Regions from separate parts of the Homo sapiens genome. Here region 1 is linked to region 2. The links are contacts of gene promoters, found by promoter capture Hi-C in blood cells and fetal thymus (Javierre and others, 2016). All regions are on one chromosome and are shown on one strand. The core of a region is centred on a gene start or on the middle of the fragment in contact, and the rest is flanking DNA. Distances in the headings are between cores, read along the strand shown. Region 1 holds the start of FMC1 (formation of mitochondrial complex V assembly factor 1). Region 2 holds the start of NCAPG2 (non-SMC condensin II complex subunit G2).

Region 1 (6,803 bases), core at 941-3,440, about 19 Mb after region 2:
CTCACTGCAGCCTTGATCGACTTCTTGGGCTCAAGTGATCCTCTCACCTCAGCTTCCCAATTAGCTGGAACTAGAGGATGGGCCATCACGCCTGGATAATTTTCAAATTTTTTGGAGAGGAAGTCTCACTACACTATGTTGCCCATGCTGTTAGAATGTGGGTTTTAGGATCTGCAGATCATGTTGAAAGCAACATTCATTAGCTGCTTAAAAACAGAATTAATCTGCTTTAATACAAATTTAACTTTTTAGTAATTTAAATTTTATGAGAAATCAACACCAATGTCAAGCATTAACAAATCATAGCATCCACTTCTATTAATATATAAGCCCAAATTTGTGGAATTTGACATGGGAATTCTAGGTTAATGTAGGATAGAATACTGCTCTTGATTCGGTTGAGCCTGAATCATGAGGACAAAAGGGTCAGCAATAGACAGGAAACAGTAAATAGATCACAAGAACCCAAAAGAGATCAAATGAAATAGAACACTGTATTTTCCCTGTGGAGAAAGGGTAGGTTTCTCCCTAATAGAATCCCTTCTCCGGAGGGAAAGGATAGAGAAAATGGGATGGTTATTCAGTTAGCTGTGAGCCTGAAGGAAACAGAAACCATTTCCCCTATGCTCAAGTGCATTCCAGAGTGGTATTTCCAGAATGTACCATGAATTTCAGAACCATTACCAAGTCTCTCTCAAGGGTAATAATGTTATCCCCATAAGGTACAACTATAATCATGTCACCTCCTTAAAAATCTTAGAATGGGGCCAGGTTTGATAGTTCACGCCTGTAATTACAACACTTTGGGAGGCCGAGGCAGGCGGATCACCTGAGGTCAGGAGTTCAAGACCAGCCTGACCAACATGGAGAAACCCCGTCTCCACTAAAAATACAAAATTAGCCGGGCGTGGTGTCGCATGTCGCCTGCCTGTACTACTCGGGAGGCTGAGGCAGGAGAATCGCTTGAACCTGGGAGGTGATCACAATCTTAGAATGGCTTCCCATTACACTTACAATAAAGTTTAAGTTCCTGTTCGGCCTACCACTTCATCTACCTCCACTTCACCCACCACACCTTAGGGCTAAACCACTCTCAACTGGCAATTTTTCTCCCCTTGGGCTTTCAATTGTGTAGCTTTTAAACCTGGACCCTAACCCCAATTTACTTGCTAACTCCAAATTAGCCTTCAGGTCCCTGATTAATTTCCTCCGGAAAACCTTCCCTAACTACCCCTTCTTTATACCCCAGCCCCTGTTGTCTACACCTTGAGCACTTATTTATCCTCAGTACTTTACTGTATGGCTCCTTAGGTGGGCAGCAAGTGTCTTAAGGACAGGACACATGTGCATCTGATTCTTCCTGTTTAGACCAGGTTCCTAGCACAGACCCTAACGTTGCCACCTTTTAAAAACTAGGTGAATTTGAGTTCTAAGATTTTACATTCTGACGTCCGTGGCTCAGAAATTCGACAGTTGATCGTTCTCCCTTTCCCCACATTGCTCAAGGGCAGCAAGTTTCCTTCCCTAAAGCCCAGTTGTTCTTTTCCGCCTCAAAAAGAAATGCTTCTTAGAATAACTTTTCTAGGGGACGGGTGAGGAAATTGTTGGCCAGATGCTGTGGCTTTAAGTCTAGCAACAGTACACCCTTCAACTCCATCTTCATTGTTTTATCCCCAGCATTGAATCCTCCATTCCACTTTCCTGACTGCCCTCCGCAGAGGCAACAGACCAGCCAATGAAATCCTTCGGGACGGGTCCGCCCCTCTGCAGGACAGGCTGACGTCCCCAGAGCGACTCTGCGCCCCCCCCCGCTGGTCCTTTGGTCCCCGAGTTTATGCCAGAGCATGGAGCCTAGGGCCTGGGTTGGTTTGGTCAGAACCAGGGCTCCGTGGGAGGGTTGGCCTCAGAAATGCAGGAATTAAACACCGTGCTCCCCACCCTAGCCCAGACCCGGCTCTTCCTCCCTCCCCAGCACGTAGAGCACCCGGGACATGGCTCCCGTACCCGATGTGCACGGAAAGCCTTCACAAGGTACCGATAGGCCGCGGTGTCGCGATAGGGTCGGCCGGTGGCCGCGCTCAGGTAGCGCAACTCCCGCAGAAGTCCTCGAAAAGTGTGCGACGGGGACCCTAAGGCCGCCATTGTCCTGTCCTTCTCCGAGCGTGGTGCCCAACGGCGTCCTACGACCCTGAAAACCCCTCCTCCGGCCCAGGCGCCTAATGGTACGGTCGGACAGACTACCGACTCCCCCTATCGACTGACGAGCAGTGGAACCGCTCACTTGTCCGTTGACCGAACCTTATTAATCGAAGGCCCAGGGGCGCCGTAACAAAATCAAACGAAACCCGACTGTTAACTGAAGGTACCAGGACCTCTAACCCAGAACAAGGGTTTGGGGAAACAGGGGCTTTTCTTCACTGCGTCATTGAAGATGCCCGTTAGCCGACCAACCGCTGAGTCTCAGGAGAAGCGGGCCCGGCGGGGGGTGTGGGTGTGGATTTGATATGGAACACGCTGAGAAGACATTTTTAAATGATTTATAAAAGGGATATCAAAATTCAACGTATTGACGTCTCCCCAAATCCCAGGGGACCTGCGGCTCAGACAAAGGACATGGGTGTGTGCAGATTCTCGAAAATTGCAGCCCACCAGCTAGTAAAAACACACACACACTTCCCATTTAAAAAAAAAAAAAGTAAAGTTGGCATATTTCGCTTTGTTTAGAAAGGGGAAAAAAGGACAAAAGTCACAGGCCACCCCAGATGGGACTCGAACCCACAATCCCTGGCTTAGGAGGCCAATGCCTTATCCATTAGGCCACTGGGGCTTCTGCAAACGACGCGCTCACACAACATATTCAACTATTTTCCTCTTTGGTACGTCATCGTCACTTCATTTTCGCCTTACCCTATCCCACGAAACCACACCTAGCGCCCACGTGAGGGGTGACGTATGCTGGGAGTTGTAGTTAGAGAACAAAAGTCCACATCACCGCGCCAAAGGCTTTACCCTCGAAACTGCACCGATGCTCCGGACGTTGAACGGGCGCGCGCACGCTTCTGCGTACGCGCTTGCCTGCGCAATAGTCTCCGCGCCTGCGCCGTAGTCCCCGCGCCTGCGCAAAAGCGGGCATGCGCCGTCGCGGAGCACAGCGCGCTGGGCAAATTGGCCGGATCTTCGAGACTCGCCCTCTGAACGTCAGCTCTGGTGGGTTTTTACCGGAAGCAGCCGGACCTTTTCCGGTGTTGCGAATTTCCAGGAGGAGCTTTGCTCCAGCGGCCGTTAGATGGCGCCTGCCGCGGTCAATTTCTGCTTCCGGTTGAAGCGTTGAGGCCATTTCCGCAGGCCGGGCGTGGTGGCGCACGCCTGTAATACCAGTACTTTGGGAGGCCGAGGCGGGCGGATCATCTTAGGTCGGGGGTTTGAAACCAGCCTGACCAACACAGAGAAACCCTGTCTCTACTAAAAATACAGAATTAGCCGGGCGTGGTGGCGCATGCCTGTAATCCCAGCTACTCCGGAGGCTGAGGCAGGAGAATTGCTTGAACCCTGGAGTCGGAGGTTGTAGTGAGCCGAGATCGCGCCATTGCTCTCTAGCCTGGGCAACAGGAGCGAAACTCCATCTCAAAAAAAAAAAGAAACATGTGCCGTGTCCTTTGAATTGGTGCGTCAGCGATAAACATGGGACAGCGGGGAAGTAATAGTACATTGATTAGGAATTAATTTTAAAAATTAGCAGTTCATTTTTTGGTTCTGTTCCTAATTGTATAACGAACAAATCACTTCGGAGTCCCAGTAAACTTACCCTTATAGTATCACAGGGGCTTCCCATTGTCCCTAAGATAAAGCTCAGACGACATAAATTGATCCTCGCTTGTACCTTAATCTTCATCTCTCACTTTTCGCTTATCACCCTCTGCTCCAGGTATCTCCACTTTCATTGTCTCTTCCCCACCACACACCTTACCTGATATTCCCTCTGCCTGAAACTTAACCATTTGTATTAATATGCCTCTTTACCCTTTGGGCTTCAGCTTACTCCAGAAGTCTAGGTTAGACGCTTCTCCAGGCCCTTGAAGTCAATACGGCAAGGTGAAAATTATTCATTTCACCTCCTCTGGTCCCCTGTTGCTCCCTTTATTTACTCATCGTAAATAACTCTTAATGTAGGTACATGGCCACTACTCCATACTGTAGTTGTCAGTCTCTTCCATCAGACTGGGAAATTGTTCAGCTCCGAAAGCCCTGTGCCTAACAGAAAAGCCTGTTTCTTCACCAGGCTTATTCCTTGGTAGCATAGTCATAACAGCTTAGTCTGAAGCTCCTAAAGGGATTGGCACTGTCTGGCCCCAGTGGCTAGGAGACATAAGCTACTGAGCAGGAATGACAAACAAATGGAACATCAATTGTTCATTAATGAGTAAAGCTGGCTTGGTTGGAAACCTGGTGAACTGGACAGCAACTAGCCCACCTGTCCAGGGGGCAGCCATTACTCACCTCCACTGATTGTTGCCATTTTAGGAAAGCAAATCCTTTAAAAACCTTTTTTTTTTTCAGGAAACTCTGGAAATCTGTTTTAATGCTATAGATTTCCTTCTAAATATTGGCCACTAATGAATACTTTAAAAGTACTGCATGCCAAACAGCCCACAGACTTCTAGTCTGTAAAGAAAGAAGAAAAAAAGGGCGATAGGATTTGAAGTTAAGAAAAGGTAAAAAACATGTGGCGTGCCTAGTTCGTGGGAAAAAAAGCTGGTTTGATGATCCTGCCTTTTTATTTTTTCTTTTTAGAAAAATTTTTACAACTATATTGTCTTTTTAAGTTTTTAAATGATTTTTTTCTTTCCTATCATCTCCTTAGCCTGATACCCTGCCTTATCTTTAGGAAAAAAATGCTCCTGATAATAAATACAAAATATAATAAACTCATTTGTATTAACATGTGAGATTCTGTTCAAAACCCAGCCTCATTATAGGTCACTCTTCAGCACCCTCAGCTGATTACCACACTGGCTAAATTAAGGAACTTACACATCTTAAACAGCCTTCTCAAGATTACCATTTTAAATGTTCCCCACTCTTGGCCGGGTGCTGTGGCTCACGCCTGTAATCCCAGCACTTTGGGAGGCTCAAGGGGGGGCGGATCACTTGAGGCCAGGAGTTCAAGACCAGCCTGGCCAACGTGGCAAAAACACATTCTCCACTAAAAATACAAAAATTAGCTGGGTGTGGCGGTGCGTGCTTGTAGTCCCAGCTACTCTGGAAGCTGAGGCAGGAGAATTGCTTGAACCCAGGAGGCAGAGGTTGCACTCCAGCCTAGGTGACACAGCGAGTGCGAGCCTGTCTAAAAAAAAAAGTTCCCCACTCGTACGTATTTCCAGATACTGAGGGTTTTCGGATACTACTTTTTGGCTAGACACACCAACTAATTATTTAACCGAGTGTACAGTGATAGAATTAAATCTCCCAGGAGCCTGGCAACAAAGCAAGACTCTGTCTCTATAAAAAAAATCGATGTATATATGGTGGTGCGTGACCGTAGTTCTAGCTATGCAGTAGTTTGAGGATCACTTAGCCCAGAAGTTCAAGGCTGCATTGAGCTATTATCTCTCCACTGCATGGCACCCTAGGTGACACCAAGACACTGTCTCTAAAATAATAATAATTGTTGGGAGCAGTGGCCCACGCCTGTAATCCCAGCACTTTGAGAGGCTGAGGCAGATGGATTGCTTGAGCTCAGAAGTTTGAGACCAGCCTGGGCAACAGCGAAAACCCACTTCTACAAAAAAAATTTTAAACTTAGCTAGGTATGGTGGTGTGTGCCTGTATTCCCAGCTACTTGGGAGGCTGAGGTGGGAGGATCGCTTGAGCCTGTGGTGAGCCTTGATCACGCTACTACACTCCAGCGTGGGTATCAGAGTGAGACCCTGTCTCAAAAAAAATTTTTTTTCTTTTTGTGAAGGTGTTTCTGTTTTGTTTTGTTTTGTTTTTGAGATGGAGTCTCACTCTGTTGCTCAGGCTGGAGTGCAGTGGCAAGATCTCAGCTCACTGCAACCTCTGCCTCCCGGGTTCAAGTGATTCTCCTGCCTTAGCCTCCCGAGTAGCTGGGACTATAGGCGCATGCCATCATGCCCAGCTAATTTTGTTTGTTTGTTTTGAGACGGAGTCTTGCTCTGTCACCCAGGCTGGAGTGCAGTGGCGCAATGTTGGCTCACTGCAAGCTCCGCCTCCCGGGTTCACGTCATTCTCCTGCCTCAGCCTCCTGAGTAGCTGGGACTATAGGCACCCGCCACTAAGCCCAGCTAATTTTTTGTATTTTTAGTAGAGACGGGGTTTCACCATGTTAGCCAGGATGGTAATTTTGTATTTTTAATAGAGATGGGGTTTCACTATGTTGGCCACGCTGGTCTCGAACTCCTGACCTCAAGTGATACACCCGCCTTGGCCTCCCAAAGTGCTAGGATTACAGGCGTGAGCCATCACACCAGACATTTTTTTTCTTTTTGAAGTGGTTTATTTAATTAATTAATTTATTTTTGAGACAGAGTCTTGCTCTGTCACCCAGGTTGGAGTGCAGTGGCGCGATCTCAGCTCACTGCAATCTCCACCTCCCAGGTTCAAGCGATTCCCCTGCCTCAGCCTCCGGAGTAGCTGGGATTACAGGCGTGCACCACCACATCAGACTAATTTTTTGTATTTTCAGTAAAGATGGGGTTTCACCATTTTGGCCCGGCTGGTCTCAAACTCTTGACCTTAAGTGATCTGCCTGCCTTGGCTTCCCAAAGTGCTGGGATTACAGGCAT
Region 2 (6,126 bases), core at 3,495-5,994:
GATTACAGGCGCACGCCACCATGCCTGGGTAATTTTTGTATTTTTAGTAGAGACGGGGTTTCACCATGTTGGTCAGGCTGGTCTCAAACTCCAGACCTCAGGTGATCTGCCCACCTTGGCCTCTCAAAGTACTGGGATTACAGGTGTGAGTCACTGCACCTGGCCTCAGGTATTCCTTCATAGCAGTGTGAGAGCAGACTAATACAGCTTCCTATGTGCTGGAGAGACTCCTCCCCTTCTTGGAGCCAGTGGCTCACTCTGCTGGGCCAGGCCCTGTGTGGCCCTGGAGACCCCTCCTCCGGGCCCCCGGCTGGTGTGACAGAGCCCTCACAGCTGCCCTGCACTGGGGGGTTTTGCCCAGAGTGGCTTTGAAATGGTTATTTTAACTAGGATTCCATGAAGTTCCTAGCTAATGACTTCTTGTTGGTTTAGCTTATTTTCCATGTTACAATTATTATAATTAAATTATAAATCTTGTATTTTCTTATACAGGCAAGGGAAGGGTTTCTGAGAAGCTGATAACAATGGTTTCCTTTGGAGCAGAGGGCTGTGTCCAGGGGGTCTCAGAAGACTCTTCTGTATACCTCTTCTTGCCATGTGAGTTTGAACCGTGTGATTGTGTTACTTGTGCAATTCAAAATAAACTAAACTTAAAAAAAAAAAAAAACCCTGCAAACCCTATGCTTGGCTCACTATGAAAGATATTATATTTTTGGCCGGGCGTGGTGGCTCACGCCTGTAATCCCAGTACTTTGGGAGGGTGAGGCGGGCGGATCACGAGGTCAGGAGATCGAGACCATCCTGGCTAACACGGTGAAACCCCATCTCTACTAAACAAAATACAAATAATAATAATAATAATAATAATAATAATAATAATAATAATTAGCCAGGCGTGGTGGCGGGCACCTGTAGTCCCATATACTCGGGAGGCTGAGGCAGGAGAATGGCGTGAACCTGGGAGGCAGAGCTTGCAGTGAGCCGAGATAGCACCACTGTACTCCAGCCTGGGCAACAGAGCGAGACTATGTCTCAAAAAAAAAAAAAAGATATTATATTTTTATCAAAGATATTTTTGCCAAGTTTTATACCCTTTGAAACTTAGTTTTATATTGCCTTGCCATGTGGTCCACCTTTAATTCTATAAACCTTTTCTAATTTACCACATTGTAAGATTTTAAGAACACAGATGATCTCATGCCTCATTCATTCATTTATTCAGAAAATATTTTCTTCAAGCATCTAAAATGTGCCAGGCCTTACGCCACGGATATAGGACTAAGGATGACACAGTGCTTGACATGGAGGAGATGATGAGGCCTGTGGTAGGGGGCTAAGAGATTGCATTACAGTGAGGGTTATGGGGTTCAGGAAATAAACCCCTATAGAAGGTAAAGCTTGAGCTGAGTTCTGGAGGAGTGTCATCTATTTGCGGGGAAGGTCACATTCCCAGTGAACGGTGATGGCAGCGGGAGGCAGACAGGTTCCTGGGTGGGAAGGGGCAGGTCCCTGGTGAAACCCCACTTTCAAGCCAGGGACAGCCTGAAGTTCCTGGGCCAGGATGCCAGTTCCTGGTGAAGTCCGAGATCCAGAAAGAGAACTTACTTGATGCCTTTCAGCCAATCAAGTAGTGCTTTTTCCAGGCCTGCCCATGGGCCAATCAGCACACACTTCCTCCTGTCTATGGACCAATCAACATGTACTTCCTCCATTCTGAGCCCATACGTGCCTGTGGATAGGAGCTACCCACTTCGAGTCTCCTCTCCACTGAGAGCTATTTGGTCAGCTGTTCTCTGCCTTGCTCACCCTCCAGATGTCTGCCAAACCTCATTCTTCCTGGACATGGGACAAGAACTTGGAACCTGCTGAATGGTGAGAGCAAAACGAGCTGTAATACTTTCCTGGCCAGCTTGCCAAGTTGCAGGTGGGAGCCAAAGTGGCTGTAACGGGTTCCTGGCCGGGTCGCTGAGCTGCGGGTGGTGACACGCTCCCAGACTGAGGGAGTGAAGAGTGGTGACCCTTGTAGAGGCCCAGGCCTTGGGATTCCCCAAGCCAGAGCTATAATGCTATAGCCCTCCCACCCTCTGCTGGCGCCCAGTGGCCACCCCATGCAGTGGGAAGCAGCGGTGGGGCCGGGACAGCCAAGGAGCCGTGGACCGGTGTGGGGCGGCAGGACCAAAAGACCTGTAACACAAATGAGGTGAAACATGCCGCCCCGGAAACACGACCCCCTGCTAGCCACGCTGTGGGTGATGAGAAGGACAGAAGAGCTGTGGCCCTTCTGGGAGCCCAGACCTCGGGGCTCCCCGAGCCAGGGCTGTGACACAGTGTAACCCCCCTTTGGGGCTCTGTGGCTCCTGGCATCTGTGAGCTTTCGGGTGCCACCATGTTCCCCTTGTCCAGATGCTGATGCCTGCAGTGGAAGCCACTTGTGGTACCTCTGGTCCAGCCACAGCCTTGCATGGAGCCGGCAGCTGTGCAGGCACCTAGAGCTGCCTGCTCCACCACAGCAGCTGCATGGCTGGGTGTGCGCAGTGGTTGGACCCCATGCTCGCTTGCTCACATACCCCTTGCCGCTCTGCACCTGGCTCACCCTTGGCAGGCGTGGGATCTGGGTTGGTAGTGCAAGCCGAGTGCAACCTGCTGGGCTGAGTGGGCTCGAGCAAAACTCTAGCAGAGGCACCGCTGGCCACGGAGGTTTCTAGCTGGTGAAGCGATACCCAAAGGATCCTATGACATTAGTGGCTGCATGGGCAGGTGCATTGGGGGTGCACTGGGCGCTCCTGCTGCCCTGCTTCCACGTGCCTCTGAGCACTGCACTACATAGACATTTAGGCCTCATAACAACCCCCTAGAGGAGGCTGAGCTCTGCATTATACAGACATTTAGGCCTCATAACAACCCCCTAGAGGAGGCTCAGTACTTAAGTAGGTCCCATTTGATAGATGAGGAAACTGAGGCTCAGTCGTCCATGGCTTGTCAAAGGTCACCAGCTAGTGAGCACAGAACCAGGTTAGCCCAGGTGGTACAGCTTCAGAGCTCACATGCGTAACTTGTTACATTATTCCTACTCAGGAAGTGGAAACCCCAGGAACAGATGGCTGATTGGAGGAGGGACCAGCATAAGGAAAGGGGCAGGATTCAGGGGTGGGAGGGGAAGTCGATATCTGTTTTGGATGCATGTCAGCACCAGCGTGGGAGTAGGCAGTGAGCTGTTGAAAATTCTGGAGTTCAGAAATAACCGTGTCTTGCAAATCCAGATGCAGAGGTCACTGCTTGAAGGTGGCAGTTTGCACCTTGGATATGAAGGAAATTGCTAAGAAGAAAGCAGTGAGAAGATGAGGGCACCAAAATTCAAGAAATGGCAGGGAAGGATCTGTGTATGGAGGGAGGAGGAGGTCAGAGGTGGCTGGAGCCCCAGGATGAAATAGGCAATGTTAGATATCGGCCACCTGTTGACAAGGGTCCCAGACTCAGCATCCTCTGAGTGGGTCTTCTCCCTCCCCTCTGCAGCCTGCCTTGCTTCACTGTTGCAAGCTTCCTAGTAAACCAGTCTTCTCCCTGCTATAATTTTATATTGCTTGTTGAAACGATATTCCAACAAGTAACATAAATATTTTTGATATACTAGGCTAAATAAAACATATTTAAAAATTAATGTCACCTATTTATCTTCATTTTTCTAATGTGGTCACTAGAAATTTACAAGTGCACTTGTGGCTCCCATGATGTTCCTATTGGTTGGTGCTGTGCTCCCACAGTGCAACGACTTCAATCTCGCCAAGACCTCTGGCTTGAGTTAAGCCAGGAAAACAGATACCACTCTAGACATCTCAAGCATGAAAGAATATAGCTCCAGGGAAGGCCAAGTCCTCACGAAGGGATGCAGAGCTCGGTGGTAAAGAGCACCGTTTTCTAAGAATTTGCTTTCAACAAAAATTGGGAACGCCCAATCAAGTTATTCGCTGACACAAATTAAAAGAGATTGATACATCAGTATGTGATTTTGGCATTTAAGTCCAAAGAATTGAATGACATTGCTACTCCTCCTTCACACGGGTGCCTCCGAGGGTCCCCGCTAAGGCCTCTCCCTCTCCACCCTATGGGCAGCTGACCTGCCGGGGGCCTCACCTGCTGGAGGAGCAACTGCAGGAGAAGCACCTGTTAGGGGCCGCACCTGGCCGGAGGGGCTCCTGCGGGGGAAGCACCTGCCCAGGGTGCACCTACCGTGTGCAGGCTGCGGACCACCCGGACAGGTGCCCCCTCGGCAGGGAGGGCGGTCACGGGGGCCGGCCAGGTCGGGGTGGGGTCCTCCCGGGGATCCAGACACGGCCCTGTGGCCTCTCCCCGCCCCAAGCCTTTCCTTTCTCTCCCCCTCTCTCTCTTCCTCTCCTTCCTCCTTCCCACAACACCGCCCGCTCGCAGCGCCCCGCCCTCTCCTGGACCGCGCACTCCCTCCGCGGAGGCCCCAGGACGCGCACGAGCGCGCAGTGGACGTCGGCGCGCGGACCGGGCATGGGTTCCCCAGCTGTGGCGCCCCGCGTGCGCGTTCCGTAGTGCCCGGTAGGGCACTGGGCTTAGCTGCTCGAGGCCGCGCCCTAAGAGGCGGGGCATAGACAGGAAGAAGACTGGCGGGCATGTGGGCGGGGCATGATCTGGAGGCGGGGCGGGCCGGGCGTGTGGGCGAGGCCCGAGGCTCGCGGCGCCCCAGCTCTCGCGAGAGCGGCGCCTGATGACGACCGGGAGGGCGGGGCCCGTCTGGGGCGCCGGCGGGTGCGTTTGAATCTGGTCCGAGCGCGGGAAACGGCGGGTCCCCGAGCCCAGGTAAGAGCTGCGGTGCCGAGCCGGGATTGGGTTCAGAGCAGGGGCTGGGAAGTAGCAGGGATCGGGCGGGAAGCCCCTCCTCGGCTGGTCGGGGTCCCAGCCTCCCCTCCCCTAAGGAGGCGGCCGACCTGCGTGCGGGCAGTGCTGCCTCTGACGGAACTGGACGGAACTGGCGACCCCGGGCCATCCCCCCTACCCAGCTCAGCGACGCCCGTCCTTCTTGTCCGTGTCGGAGGAAAATCCCAGCCCCGGGCGCGGGCACTGCCCTCAGAGAGCGACCCCCCAGCCCTGAGCATGGGCACCGTCCTCAGAGAGTGTCCCCTCAGTCCTGGGCATGGGCACTGCCCTCAGAGAGCGACCTCCTCTGTCCTGGGCATGGGAACTGCCCTCAGAGAGTGTCCCCTCAGTCCTGGGCATGGGCACTACCCTCAGAGAGCGACCCCCTCAGTCCTGAGCATGGGCACTGCCCTCAGAGAGCGTCCCCTCAGTCCTGGGCATGGGCACTACCCTCAGAGAGCGACCCCCTCAGTCCTGAGCATGGGCACTGCCCTCAGAGAGCGACCCCCTCAGTCCTGGGCATGGGCACTGCCCTCAGAGAGCGTCCCCTCAGTCCTGGGCATGGGCACTACCCTCAGAGAGCGACCCCCTCAGTCCTGAGCATGGGCACTGCCCTCAGAGAGCGTCCCCTCAGTCCTGGGCATGGGCACTGCCCTCAGAGAGCGACCCCCTCTGTCCTGGGCATGGGAACTGCCCTCAGAGAGAGTCCCCTCAGTCCTGGGTGTCGGTACTGCCCTTAGAGAGAGTCCCCCTGAGCCCTGGGTGTAGGCACTGCCCTCAGAGAGTATCTCCCCAGCTGTGGACGTGGGCATTGTCCTCAGAGACATCAGTCTCCTGAACTCTTGTTGCTGGTTTGGTGCCTCTTGTTGTGTCCATGAGGAAGGAGTTTGGGGACGGAGTGGGAAGTCACAGGTGGTGAGAAGGTAACAGGGATTTCTTCTTTTTAATGCTCATCTTGATTTAGTACCAGACCTCCTGTGCGAAGAGTAACCTGCTCTTCGGACTGATAACTGGATGGTGAGATGACTCCTTACCTTGAAAGTAGCATTCTGGCTGCAGGGCTGAGGTCTTATGCACATATGGTACAAGAAACATGGAATATTGCCACTTTGGGAGATAGATTGAAAAATTAACCATTAAAAAATTACAGTCACTAATATAAGAGGGAAAATGGGAAATATAGGAATAAGTTTGGTAGTCTAGAGGAAGTGTATTACTGTAAGTTGGACTAACATGCCAAAGAGG

What was found. Contacts are between HindIII fragments. The CHiCAGO score rates a contact against its expected background, and 5 or more counts as called.
Region 1: the fragment with the promoter of FMC1 here is called in contact with the fragment with the promoter of NCAPG2 in region 2 in 1 of 17 cell types (neutrophils); the score reaches 5.6 in neutrophils.

Annotation. Positions count from the first base shown.
Region 1 is chr7:139,336,724-139,343,526 of GRCh38, reverse strand. FMC1 (formation of mitochondrial complex V assembly factor 1) reads right to left here and starts at 2,190. Exons shown (of 2, transcript NM_197964.5): 1 at 2,005-2,190. The coding sequence starts at 2,142. FMC1-LUC7L2 (FMC1-LUC7L2 readthrough) reads right to left here and starts at 2,190. Exons shown (of 11, transcript NM_001244584.3): 1 at 2,005-2,190. The coding sequence starts at 2,142. TRR-CCT4-1 (tRNA-Arg (anticodon CCT) 4-1) reads right to left here and starts at 2,827; the gene lies at 2,755-2,827. It also overlaps a transcript of LUC7L2 not described here. RefSeq lists enhancers at 1,950-2,199, 1,647-2,214, 2,470-2,539, 2,570-2,639, 2,950-3,009. The HindIII fragment of the contact is 22,532 bases long and covers 1-6,803 here.
Region 2 is chr7:158,703,422-158,709,547 of GRCh38, reverse strand. NCAPG2 (non-SMC condensin II complex subunit G2) reads left to right here and starts at 4,744. Exons shown (of 28, transcript NM_017760.7): 1 at 4,744-4,824. RefSeq lists silencers at 4,088-4,367, 4,488-4,577, 4,728-4,827 and an enhancer at 5,405-5,983. The HindIII fragment of the contact is 5,779 bases long and covers 3,540-6,126 here.